3 separate regions of the Homo sapiens genome follow, and regions 1 and 2 are each linked to region 3. Evidence: promoter capture Hi-C in 16 types of primary human blood cells and fetal thymus (Javierre and others, 2016). All regions are on one chromosome and are shown on one strand. Each heading gives the region's core, a stretch centred on a gene start or on the middle of the fragment in contact. The rest is flanking DNA. Distances are from core to core; before and after follow the strand shown. Region 1 holds the start of FAM216A (family with sequence similarity 216 member A). Region 2 holds the start of ATP2A2 (ATPase sarcoplasmic/endoplasmic reticulum Ca2+ transporting 2). Region 3 holds the start of BRAP (BRCA1 associated protein).

Region 1 (3,980 bases), core at 136-2,635, 1.2 Mb after region 3:
CTACTCCAGAGGCTGAGGGAGGAGAATGGCGTGAACCCGGGAGGCGGAGCTTGCAGTGAGCTGAGATGGCACCACTGCACTCCAGCCTGGGCAACAGAACGAGACTCTGTCTCAAAAAAAAAAAAACAAAAAGGATGGCCATGGGTGCAACAGGGGCCCTGACTGCGGGTTGTACTGAACGGCAAACATATCGCAGTTCTTGCTTTTAGGGAATAAAGTAGGGAGAGGAAGAGGAGGTAGAGTCTCCAGCAGTGACTTCAACAGCTCGCTGTCTTCACTATCTAGGAAATAGGTGTAAAAACCTGCTCAAAACGAAATAGATTTGTGAAAAAAGGAACTTCAGTGTGAAGAAAATGTCAAGATCAAGGCACCTCGGATATTCAGTCATTGGTCTCATTGGCGATTAGAAATCCTCGTTTGAGGTCGGGCGCAATGGTTCACCCCGTAATCCCAGCAATTTGGGAGGCCGAGGCGGGCGGCTCACTTGAGGTCAGGGGTTCGACACAAGCCTAGCCAACATGGTGAAACCACCTCTCTACTAAAAATACAAAAATTAGCCGGGCGTGGTGGCAGGCGCCTGTAATCCCAGCTACTCGGGAGGCTGAGGCAGGAGAATCACTTGAACCTGGGAGGCTGAGGTTGCAGTGAGCTGAGATCGCACCACCGCATTCCAGCCTAGGCAACAGAGCGAGACTGTCTCGCTCTCAAAAAACAAGAAAGAAAAGAAAAAAAAAGAAAAAGAAATCCCCGTTTGACAGGAAGGTGGCTCATGTCACTAGAGGGAAGGAACTGGTTTATGGGCCTGGATGCCCCCAGTTGAACCGGGGGACATCTTCCTCCTCTGTCCCTCCCGCCTCGCCTTTCGGTGGACACACAGTCCTGTGCCAGACAGCAAACGTCCCAGCAGGGCTCGCAGCGCCCCCTCGGGGCAGAGAGATGCACGCGGGCGACTGTCGCAGTCACCTCGTGGCCACTGCACCAAACGCTCCTCCGAAGCTTCCCTCAGAGACCCTCCCTCAACCGCGAGGCAGTCCTCCCCTCTGCCCTCTGTCCACAACAAAACTGCTCCCCGCCTCTCACTTGAGGGCACCGGGGCCAGCCCCCGAGACGAGAGGTCGGCCGCAGCCCTCCTCCACGGGGCTCACGACCCGGGGGCCTCACGACCCGGGGGCCCCATGCTGCCACCCTTACCCCGGGGCCCCCAACCTCACCCGCCGCCGCCACCCTCGGTCCCGGCCACAGCGGGCGGCTCTGCAGAAGAGCTACGCTCCGTCCAGTCGGACCCCGGACCCTGGCCGGGCATCTCCGCGGCGCCGAGACCGCGAGCCGTGTGCGGGAGCAGCTGTCCCAGCATCCCTCCCCCGACAGCACGCGTGCGTCAGGCTGCTGGTATTCCGGAGAGGCGGCTCGGATGCTGGCTTCTCGCCCCTCCGAAGCCGTTCGGACACTGCCCGAACAGCTTCGGGAGAGCGGGGCGGGCAGATCCGCGACCCCGGAGTTACGGTGGGGGAGGGGCAGGAGCGCTGCGGTCGCTGAGCGTTTGCACGTTTGCACCTCTCTGTGGAAGCAGTGCGTCACAGGAGGGAAATATACATGCTCCCCAAAACAAGAGGTGCCTTCCACTTCAGTATTCCAGATCCTCAGCACATTTGCAAATCGCGAGGGTCACCATACAGGTCAAACGTCTGCACGCAAACCACGGACCGAAGCACGTGGCGCAAGGATGCGGAGCTTTATCTGTTGTCCGTTATTACTCAGGTATCCAAGCTTAGACAGCATCCCAACGGCCGATTTCCATCAACTACTTTTGCGCACGCGCAAATCCTCTCCCTCGCCCCTCCCCTTTTTTCTCAGGACGCGTTTCTCACGGGATTTGGCCCGCGGGCTGCCCCGTAGTAGGAGGTGTGGTAGAACTGGAGGCGTAGAAAGAATGTGGATTGCGATTGGTTCGCACTTCACTTTCCCGGAGCTCAGTGGGCGTCGCGCGAAGGCTAAGGGAGTGTGGCGGGCGGCTCCGGGAGCCAACATGCCTCGGTATGCGCAGCTGGTCATGGGCCCCGCGGGCAGCGGGAAGGTGAGGATCTGCGGGGACAAGGAGAGAAAAGTAGGAGTTCGTGGAAGGCGGGAGATTGGGTCCTGAGGGAGTGAGCCGGCGGGTGTGTGTACTGGGAACCCTGAGACCCCACGCAACTCATTTCTGCTGTCTGGCTTCACGTTCTTTTTTGTTGTTGTTTTGAAAGGGAAATAATGGTAGTTGTTAATATTTATTGTATACTTAAGCCCCAGGCAGCAGATGAAACGCCTCGCTTATTTCTACAACAACCCTGTGAGAGAGATCTCATTTTTCTCATTTTACAGAAAACGAGATACAGAAAGGTTAATTAAGTTCTTTGCCCCGCAAAAAAATATAAATCCAGTTTTGTCTCAACTCCAGAATCCGGCCCTGTCTCGCTCCCAGGAGGGTAAAGTGGGGTCTCATTAATTACTGTTTCTCAGAACTTGGGACATGGACTTTTGGTATTTAAGGTGCTTTTAGGTGGTAGGTGGTACATGGACCCCACATTAAGGAGCATCAGATAATGTGTTAGGGAAATTGTTCCCTTTTCATTTCTCTTTCAGTTCTCAACTTCGCATTTAGGAGAAGTTGTGCTCGGTGCTAGTGTGTATCTTCAGCACTTCTTTAATCCCCAGGTCTTTTCAGAGAGCAGTTCTTAGTCTCAGAGCTTTTAATAGGCACCTGTATTTAGCTAAAAATAGAACATTTAAAGATTTTATATAATTTTATGTCTAATTTCACGTTATGTCAAATATAAGTGGTTTTCAGTTTACAGTAGGGATAAAATTTTTTCTTGTAAACAAATATTAAGGGAATGTTAGGAACATTCAAATACAGTGAGAATGGTGAAGATATGGATCAAATAACATATGTGTGGGAAACATAGCCAGGCGTGGTGGCTCACGTCTGTAATCCTATCACTTTGGGAGATGGAGGTGGACGGATCGCCTGAGCCCAGGAGTTTGGGACCAGCCTTGGCAACACGGCGAAACTCTGTCTCTACAAAAAAATGCAAAAATTAGCCAGGCCTGGTGGCAGGTACCTCTAGTCCCAGCTTCTCGGGAAGCTGAAGTGGGAGGATTACCTGAACCCAGGAGGTTGAGGCTGTGGTGAGTGGTGATCGTGCCACTGCACTCCAGCCTGGGTGACAGAGGTACTGTCGCAAAAAAAAAAAAGAAGAAGTGTGGAAACACTAGAGTCTGTGGAGGTGTTGTGTGGCCTCAGTCTTTAACAAACACATTGTTCTAAGCTGTTGACTTATTCTGGGTAAAAACATGTACATGTAACTAAGATACCTATGGCCTTTAACTTACCCAGAGTCTGTAGTCTTTTGGGGAAGACAAATAGATGACCTGTCAATTAAGATACAGTGTGATGTGGCCAGGTGTGGTGGCTTAAGCCTGTAATCCTCGCACTTTGGGAGGCTGAGGCCAGCAGATCACTTGAGCCCAGGAGTTCAGGGTCAGCCTGGGCACCATGGTGAAGCCCTGTCTCTACCAAAAATACAAAAATTAGCTGGGCATGGTGGCGAGAGCCTATAGTCCCACCTACTCGGGGGGCTAAGGCTGGAGAATCGCTTGAGCCTGGGTCAAAGCTGCAGTGAGCTATGATGGTGCCACTGCACTCCAGCCTGGGTGACAGTGAGACCCTTTGCAAAAAAAAAAAAGATACAGTGTGTGATGTATGGAGAGGGCATTCCAGACAGAGACAACAGTATGTGTAAAGGCACTGAGAGGACAGCATGATGGATGTTTTTTCTATAGTCTATTTTAATTTTTGGGCTGATTGTATTAAACAAGTATCTTTATAAGCTTTTGATGCTTACTATCAGAAACATTCCTTGAGTACGTTCTTTATCCCAGGCACTGTTTTGGGCCCTGGGGGTTGTATGGGGAAAAAAACATGCACACACAAAATCCGTGCC
Region 2 (3,531 bases), core at 6-2,505, 1.4 Mb after region 3:
AATTCTAAGCATCAATATCTTTAAAACACAGACCTAGCTATAAGAATATCCGATTTTTTTAGCAGAGGGCATACCACGAAGATATCTCAAGGAAGCATGCACTCTTTGTAATCAATGGCCTGAGGTCTAGCCCTAAGCGTGAAATCACTTCGGGCTCCTGAACCTAGGAGTGGTTTCAGCGATGTCATCACTTCTGCCAGATGTGTAACTTTGGGTAGGACAAGAACGGTCAGAGGCCTTCCAACGACCTCGACTCCTCATAAATCGGCAGGGGACGAGAAAACGTCTTGCCGGGCTCAACCTAGCTGCAGAAGCCACGTCCCTCCCTCCACCGGGGCCGGCTGCTGCTGGAGAGAAGCCTCCGAGCCTTGCGCGCCGAAAAGGTCGAGGGCCCGAGAAGCGAAGAGGTCCAGGGAAGGCGAGGCGAGGACCGCAGCCCCTTTCTCTCCCGCGGGGCCGGCGCGCTGGCCCGACCCTCCGCCCGCAGCTGTCGGCGGGCGCGGAGCCGAAGCCCACGAGGTGGAGCCCGGTCAGCCATCTTCCCTGGCTCTCCCGGCCGCGCCGGGCCCCTGCAGCGGAGCGCCCTGCACCTACCGTTGGAGCCCCATCTCTCCTTAAGCTTCTTGACCTGTTCCAGGCTCAGCCCCGTACTCTCGTTGACGCCGAAGTGGCCCAGCACCTCCTCCACCGTCTTGGTGTGCGCGTTCTCCATGGCTTCGGGGGCCCGGCCGGCCTCGCCTCCCGTCCCCGCGGCCTCCTCGCCTCCGCCTCGCACTCCGGCCGCGGGCTCGTGCCACCCCGGGAGCCCAGGCGCGGACGGGCTCTCCCCTCCTCCTCTTGCGGCCGCTTCCGCCTCGCCGGGCGCTGAATCACCCCGCGCCCCCTCCCCCAGACAACCGCCCCTCGCGCGGCCCCGAGCTCCGCAGGGCGGGTTGGGGGCTCCTGACCCACCCTCCCTCCCCTCGCCAGAAGGGAGGGCCTCCCTCGCCCTCAGCCGCCCGCCGGGAGGGCAGGCCGCGGCCCCCGAGCCCCCTCCCCGCTCTCTTGAGGCGATCAGAGGCCCCGCCCGGGCCGGAGGAGGGGGCGCCCGGCAGACCACTGAGGGCGGAACGCGGCGAGGGAGGCGAGCCGGCGGGGCGGTGCGCGGCGCGCTCGCCCGGGTCCCTCAGCGCCGCACGCCCGACAGCGGCGGAGGAAACTGCGGCGAAGGAAAAGGAGGTGGCGTCGGGGACGGCTCCGCGGCGGCTGCTCTAATAGCATTTATCGGCCGCTGCCTCCCCTTTCGCCGCCGCCGCGGCATGTGGACGCCGCTCATTGGCCGAGAGCGCCCAGCGCGGCGCGGGCGGCGCGGCCCCGCCCCCTCCTCCCGGCTCCCTCCTCCCGCGCGCCTGGCGCCCACGCTGCCGCGCAGGCCCCGCCCCCTCCCGCGCGCCGCCCCTAGGAACCCGGATCGAGGCCGCGCGCGCCGCGGTCGCGGGGCTGGCGGAGGGGAAGCTGGGTACCCTCTTCTGTGCCTGCGGTTCTCTGACCCACCCACCTGCAGACGCAGGGTGGGGCGCTCACAGTGGGCACGCTGCTCTGGGGCCGGTGGGCGGATGGTTGGAAGGCGAGGCCGAGGAGCTGGGAGCGCGGTCCACGCGGGGCGTCTCGAGGCGCCCTCGGGCTGATGTCCTTGGCTCGCCTCCTCGCCCTCGGTCGCCCGGGCTGCGCTCTGCATCCTAATCTGGCTCCTTCAGAGCCCCCCTCAGAAACCAAGGGGAGGAATTCCGCAGTTCACTTCCCACACAACCCAAATCCTTCATCTGTCGCCTCGGGAACACCGCATCCTACACCCCCTGCCGCCAGCTCCTTCGCACGCCAGCCCCGATTCTTCCCCAGCGGGTTCTGGGCCCTGACGAGGGAACCCCCCTCGCGGGGGGGAGGGAGAAGAGTTGATTTTATTATTAATAGCTGACGCAGCGCTTGATAGGTGTCTGCAGGGCAGTCACAGTTCACGCCGCTGGAGCTGCCACACAGCAGCTAGACTTGGGCTAGGAGGTGCTTCGCTGTGGCTTTCAGATGAAGGCCATTTCATAGACTCACTTCCCTCGACAGGAGAAAAGGGGACTTGAATCCAAAGCTGCTCTTAAACCACAGATGATTTGCTCTGCTCGGGAGGACAAAGCGCAGGTCACAGCAAGATAAAGGGAATTTTGCCAATATAAAGAAGCTACATTACTTAACAAGGGGATGGGAAATTGCATGGAATTCATGAACAAAACATGAACATATTCTCTTCACAAAGAAGAGCAGCTTTCTTCACGGAGTAGGTTGCAGAATGAAGCAATTAGTCCACTTTTGTGTTTAACAATAACGCACCATCCGCATGAGCAAAAGCAGAGCAGAAAAATCACCTCAGTTGTCTCAAGTGGCTGGGCTTCAGGACTTAAGATAAATTCCTTCAGCAGATGCAAATTACAGTGCATCACCAGCTGAAAAAATCAGGCACGTCATGTCATTTAATTATTTCCAAGGAGTGGACGTTGGCATGTAGTTTTGATTGATACTTGGAAAAGAACCAACAAAACCCTACACGAAACAAACAAACAAAAAATTATACTATATGGCAACGCACTGAGAGAAGCCAGGTGGAAACTGGTTAGGTCACAGGATCAGAGCCGCTTCAAGAGGGGCACGTGAGTGCACGGTGGGAGTGTGGTCATGGAGGGCTGGCTGTTGTTGCCCTCTGAGACCAGCTCTGCACCATTTCGTACCAATTCTTCTCCCTTACCTCCTCTGTCTCTTTCAGGACCGATAGAAGCACTGCAGGCAGGAGAAGGATGGTTTACCTTTCTCAGCCTGGAAATTAGCTTAGGCATTTGATGTTGAATATTCTGTGCCACTGTCACTGCTTGGGGTTGTAAGCACCTCTGGTGCAATTATGAGCTTCTGGAGGAGTTCCTGACCTCAGCCTTTGTATGGAATGCTCTTCCCACAGATCTTCTTCACTTGTGTCGTTCTCTTTCCATTCAGATCGCAGCTTACATGTCCCCTCCTCAGAGATGTCTTTGCTGTCTAAAGTGGCTACCCAGCCACAGTGGCTCACGTCTGTAATCCCAGCATTTTGGGAGGCTGAGGCAGGAGGATCCCTTGAGCCCAGGAGTTTGAGACCAGCCTGGGCAATATAGCGAGACTCCATCTCTACTAAAAAAAAAAAAGAAAAAAATTAGCTGGGCGTGGTGGCCTGAACCTTTAGTCCCAGCTACTCAGGAGGCTAAAGAGAGAGGATCGCTTGAACCCAGGAGGTCAAGACTGCAGTGATCTGTGATCACGCCACTGCACTCCAGCCTGAGCAACAACAGAGTGAGACCTTGTCTCAAAAAAAAAATTAAATAATAAATAAATTAAAAAGTGGCTACTCTCGGCAATTCACCTTCCATCACATTTTTCAGTTTTCTTTTCTTCTTTTTTTTCCTTTGAGACAGAGTCTCTCTCTGTCACCCAGGCTGGAGGACAGCAGCACAATCCCAGCTCACCACAACCTCGGCCTCC
Region 3 (3,468 bases), core at 579-3,078:
TGAAATCCTGAGCCAGTTACTCTTCCTCCAAGCCTCAGGTTACTCCTCTGTAGAACAGGGACATAGTACCAGTTTCATAAAGTTGTTGTGACCATTGCATGACACAAGGTATATGAAACACTCAAATTAGTACCTGGCACATGTTGAAATGTTATCTACTATAGTAATATACTAAAAAAGTTCACAAGAGGTCTCATAGGTTTTATGCATACAGTATGTGTGTATGGTTTATGCACTTTCACATAACCCTGTGATTCTTCAACAGGGTTATGTTTTCTAACCCCAAGGAGACATCTGGAAAGGTCCAGAGACATTATTGGTTGTCACCACCTGGGGAGAGGTGCTACTGACATCTAGTGGGTCAGGCCAGGGATGTTTCTAAACACTCTACAATGCTCAGGACACCCCGCCCCCTTGCCAAAAACAAAAAAGAATAATCAGGACCCAAAATGTTAATAGTGCAGAGTTGAGAAACCCTGATTTAAACAGGGCATATGGAAACGTATTTCATAGGATGTAGTCACAAGATCTATATACGCATGTATCTTGTGGTCATGTCATAGTCCAGATACACACACATCTAGAACGCACTATGTCCACACACACACACATCTAGAATGTACTATGTACTTACATATGTATCATTATACAATGTACCTAGAGTAGCATCCTGTCATGTATGTGTCCCATATGCATTGATTGTGTCAGTATCTACATACAAAAGCCACTCTGACATACTGGAAAGAATGCTGAGCCTCAGAAAAGCTAATGTTATCTCCATATACATAATTCCATTTCATCCTCACAACTGCATGAGGACATGATATCATGCCAACTTTATGCAATGACTATACTAGTTCAAGACTGCACAACTGCTGATGTAGGTCAACCTCATAGTACGGACAGGAACTGTGTTTATCTTATACGCCAACGTATCTCAAGCATCCCAAGGGTGTCTAGACTCTCAGTAAACATTTGTGAAGTGACAGGGTGGGGAGGAGGACCCCGGTCTAACTGCAGCACTATGCTCGTAACCAGCAGATCACCATCTTTTCTCTCTTTTTTTTGAGACGGAGTTTCGCTCTTGTTGCCCAGGCGGGAGTGCACTAGCACTATCTCGACTCACTGCAACCTCCGCCTCCCGGGTTCAAGCGATTCTCCTGTCTCAGCCTCCCAAGTAGCTTGGACTACAGACGCGCGCCACCAAGCCCGGCTAATTTTTTGTATGTTCAGTAGAGACGAGGTTTCACCATGTTGGCCAGGTTGGTCTCGAACTGCTGACCTGAGGTGATTCGCCCGCCTAAGCCTCTGGGCTGGGATTACAGGCGTGAGCCACCGCGCCCAGCCAGATCGCTATCTGAACAGCGATCGACTCTCCACTCTCTACGGCCCCTTAGAAGGAACTTCACCTCTCTGAGCCTCGTTGTACCTATCTGTAAAGTGGGACAGAAACAAAACCATCCAGACTAGGGTTAGAGACAGGAGTCAAACACAACAAAAGGGGCAAAGTTCTGCATAGCAGATAGCTCGGACAATTCGGAGACCTCGCGGAGCCAGGGATCCCGCGCCGTCAGCCGAGGTGGATTAGGACGAGGCCTCTGGAGCAAGCAGAGGTTAACTCGCGACTGTGCGAAAACCTGCAGCTCAGCCTAAGTGTGGCACCCCAGCGCAAGCAATCTCCACGACGTCCTTCCGCTCCGACCTCCTCAAAATTGCGTCCGGAAGAGCAGTGGGTGACCCCTGCCACGCCGCCCAATCGCTGTGCGCGGTCCTGCGCGCATGCGTAAACCGCAGGTCAGCGACGGCGGCCGGGAGGCGGAAGTGGAGGTTGTTGTGGCTCCGAGGGCTGTTCGAGGAGCTGCTGCTGCTGAGGCGGCGGCAACTGCATTGAGGTGGTGGCGGCGCTGCCGGCCCCGGGCCGCTCGGCCTCTCGGCTCGCCTTCCAGCCTCGCCTGAGCCCGCCGGGGCCCGCGCCGGCCAGCGCCTGCCCTATGAGTGTGTCACTGGTTGTTATCCGATTGGAGCTCGCGGAACACTCGCCTGTCCCCGCCGGCTTCGGCTTCAGCGCCGCGGGTGAGTCCCGCGGCCTCGCCGCATTCCCTGTAGCCGGGTCTGGGCCCGGAGGGCTTCCCTTCCCAAAGCACTGGCCCGGGAAAAGCCCGCGGCGAGGGCTGTTGCCCAGGAAGACACGGAGAGGTAATCGGGATCCCTCTCTTTCCCATCCGCCTTTGAGAGGCCTTCCCGTTTGTTATCTCAGGGAAGCCCTGCCCCGAACCTCCCTCCCTGTGCCGTCTGAGGGCATTTAGTTTATACCTGGCGCGTCTCCCTCTCGAGATAGTCGAGTGGTGTGTTTGTCTCACTTGCTTCCCTATGGGCTTCGTAAAGGCAGGGACTGGGTCCCCAGCAACGCTGGACGGTCCCTGGGTTAATTAAATTGTTCCCTTTTGGAACGATATCCATTGAAGTGCCCCCTAACCATAGTCATAACTAAAATTTGGACACTTCCTATATCCCAGCACTGTACTAAGCACCTTTTGTGTATTGTATTCTTTAATTATCTTTGCAACAGCCCTAAGAGGCAGATGGATGTGACATGTACCTCTTACACATTGGGAAACTGAAGCTTAGTGATTAATTGATTTGCCCAAGGTTATCTGTAATGGGTGAAACTGGGATTCTAACTCAGTGAGCTGGACTTGAGTCTGAGCTTTTTACACCATTAACACAAGTGAGGAAGCTCCTTAGTGGGGAATGCAGCTCTGGCTCTGTTCCTTGGTCCTCAGATAATTAACTAACATTCATTCAAGAAATACTTGGCCGGGCGCGGTGGCTCACGCCTGTAATCCTCACACTTTGGGAGGCCGAGGCGGGCGGGTCACCTGAGGTTGAGAGTTCAAGACCAGCCTGGCCAACATGGTGAAACCCTGTCTGTACTAAAAATACAAAAATTAGCTGGGCGTGGTGACAGGTGCCTGTAATCCCAGCTACTGGGGAGGCTGAGGCAGGAGAATCGCTTGAACCCGGGAGGTGGAGGTTGCGGTGAGCCAAGATTGTGGCACTGCACTCCAGCCTGGGCGACAAGAGATAAAGTCCATTTCAAAAAAAAAAACAAAAAAAAAACTTATGCTCATATCTGCTGGAGCCTTCCTTGTGTGCTGAATCAGACAGCGTCTCTGTTTTAATGGCACCAGCAGTATCATGGAGGAAACAGATGAATTAAATAAGTGCAGAATATGTGTAGAATTACAACTGTGGTAAGTGCTGTGAAGGAAAGGAGAAACAATTTGGGAAAGTATTACAAGAAGATGTGTTTGGTTTGGAGAGAGGGATGGGGGCAGGTAGGGATGGTGTCATTGGGAACTTCCTGAGGACGTGACCTTTGAAGCTGCAAATTAAAGATTGAATATGACTTTATAGCTTATGAGCACCTTTCCAAAGGCTAAAAGTGGCTTCTGAGTTCTGAGAGTC

Evidence for each region. Contacts are between HindIII fragments. The CHiCAGO score rates a contact against its expected background, and 5 or more counts as called.
Region 1: a contact is called between the fragment with the promoter of FAM216A here and the fragment with the promoter of BRAP in region 3, in 1 of 17 cell types (fetal thymus). The highest score is 7.3, in fetal thymus.
Region 2: a contact is called between the fragment with the promoter of ATP2A2 here and the fragment with the promoter of BRAP in region 3, in 1 of 17 cell types (fetal thymus). The highest score is 5.3, in fetal thymus.

The regions. Positions count from the first base shown.
Region 1 is chr12:110,466,250-110,470,229 of GRCh38, reverse strand. It overlaps FAM216A (family with sequence similarity 216 member A), which reads right to left and starts at 1,385. Exons shown (of 7, transcript NM_013300.3): 1 at 1,212-1,385. The coding sequence starts at 1,354. It overlaps GPN3 (GPN-loop GTPase 3), which reads left to right and starts at 1,973. Exons shown (of 8, transcript NM_016301.4): 1 at 1,973-2,074. The coding sequence starts at 2,027. RefSeq lists enhancers at 642-811, 1,732-1,861 and a silencer at 1,012-1,321. The HindIII fragment of the contact is 771 bases long and covers 999-1,769 here.
Region 2 is chr12:110,278,971-110,282,501 of GRCh38, reverse strand. It overlaps ATP2A2 (ATPase sarcoplasmic/endoplasmic reticulum Ca2+ transporting 2), which reads right to left and starts at 1,255. Exons shown (of 20, transcript NM_170665.4): 1 at 595-1,255. The coding sequence starts at 712. RefSeq lists enhancers at 1-560, 1,678-1,747 and silencers at 388-897, 988-1,587. The HindIII fragment of the contact is 3,608 bases long and covers 622-3,531 here.
Region 3 is chr12:111,684,316-111,687,783 of GRCh38, reverse strand. It overlaps BRAP (BRCA1 associated protein), which reads left to right and starts at 1,828. Exons shown (of 12, transcript NM_006768.5): 1 at 1,828-2,073. The coding sequence starts at 1,992. It overlaps ACAD10 (acyl-CoA dehydrogenase family member 10), which reads right to left and starts at 1,731. Exons shown (of 21, transcript NM_025247.6): 1 at 1,545-1,731. RefSeq lists a silencer at 1,956-2,055 and enhancers at 1,400-2,101, 2,102-2,803, 2,804-3,468. The HindIII fragment of the contact is 2,811 bases long and covers 1-2,625 here.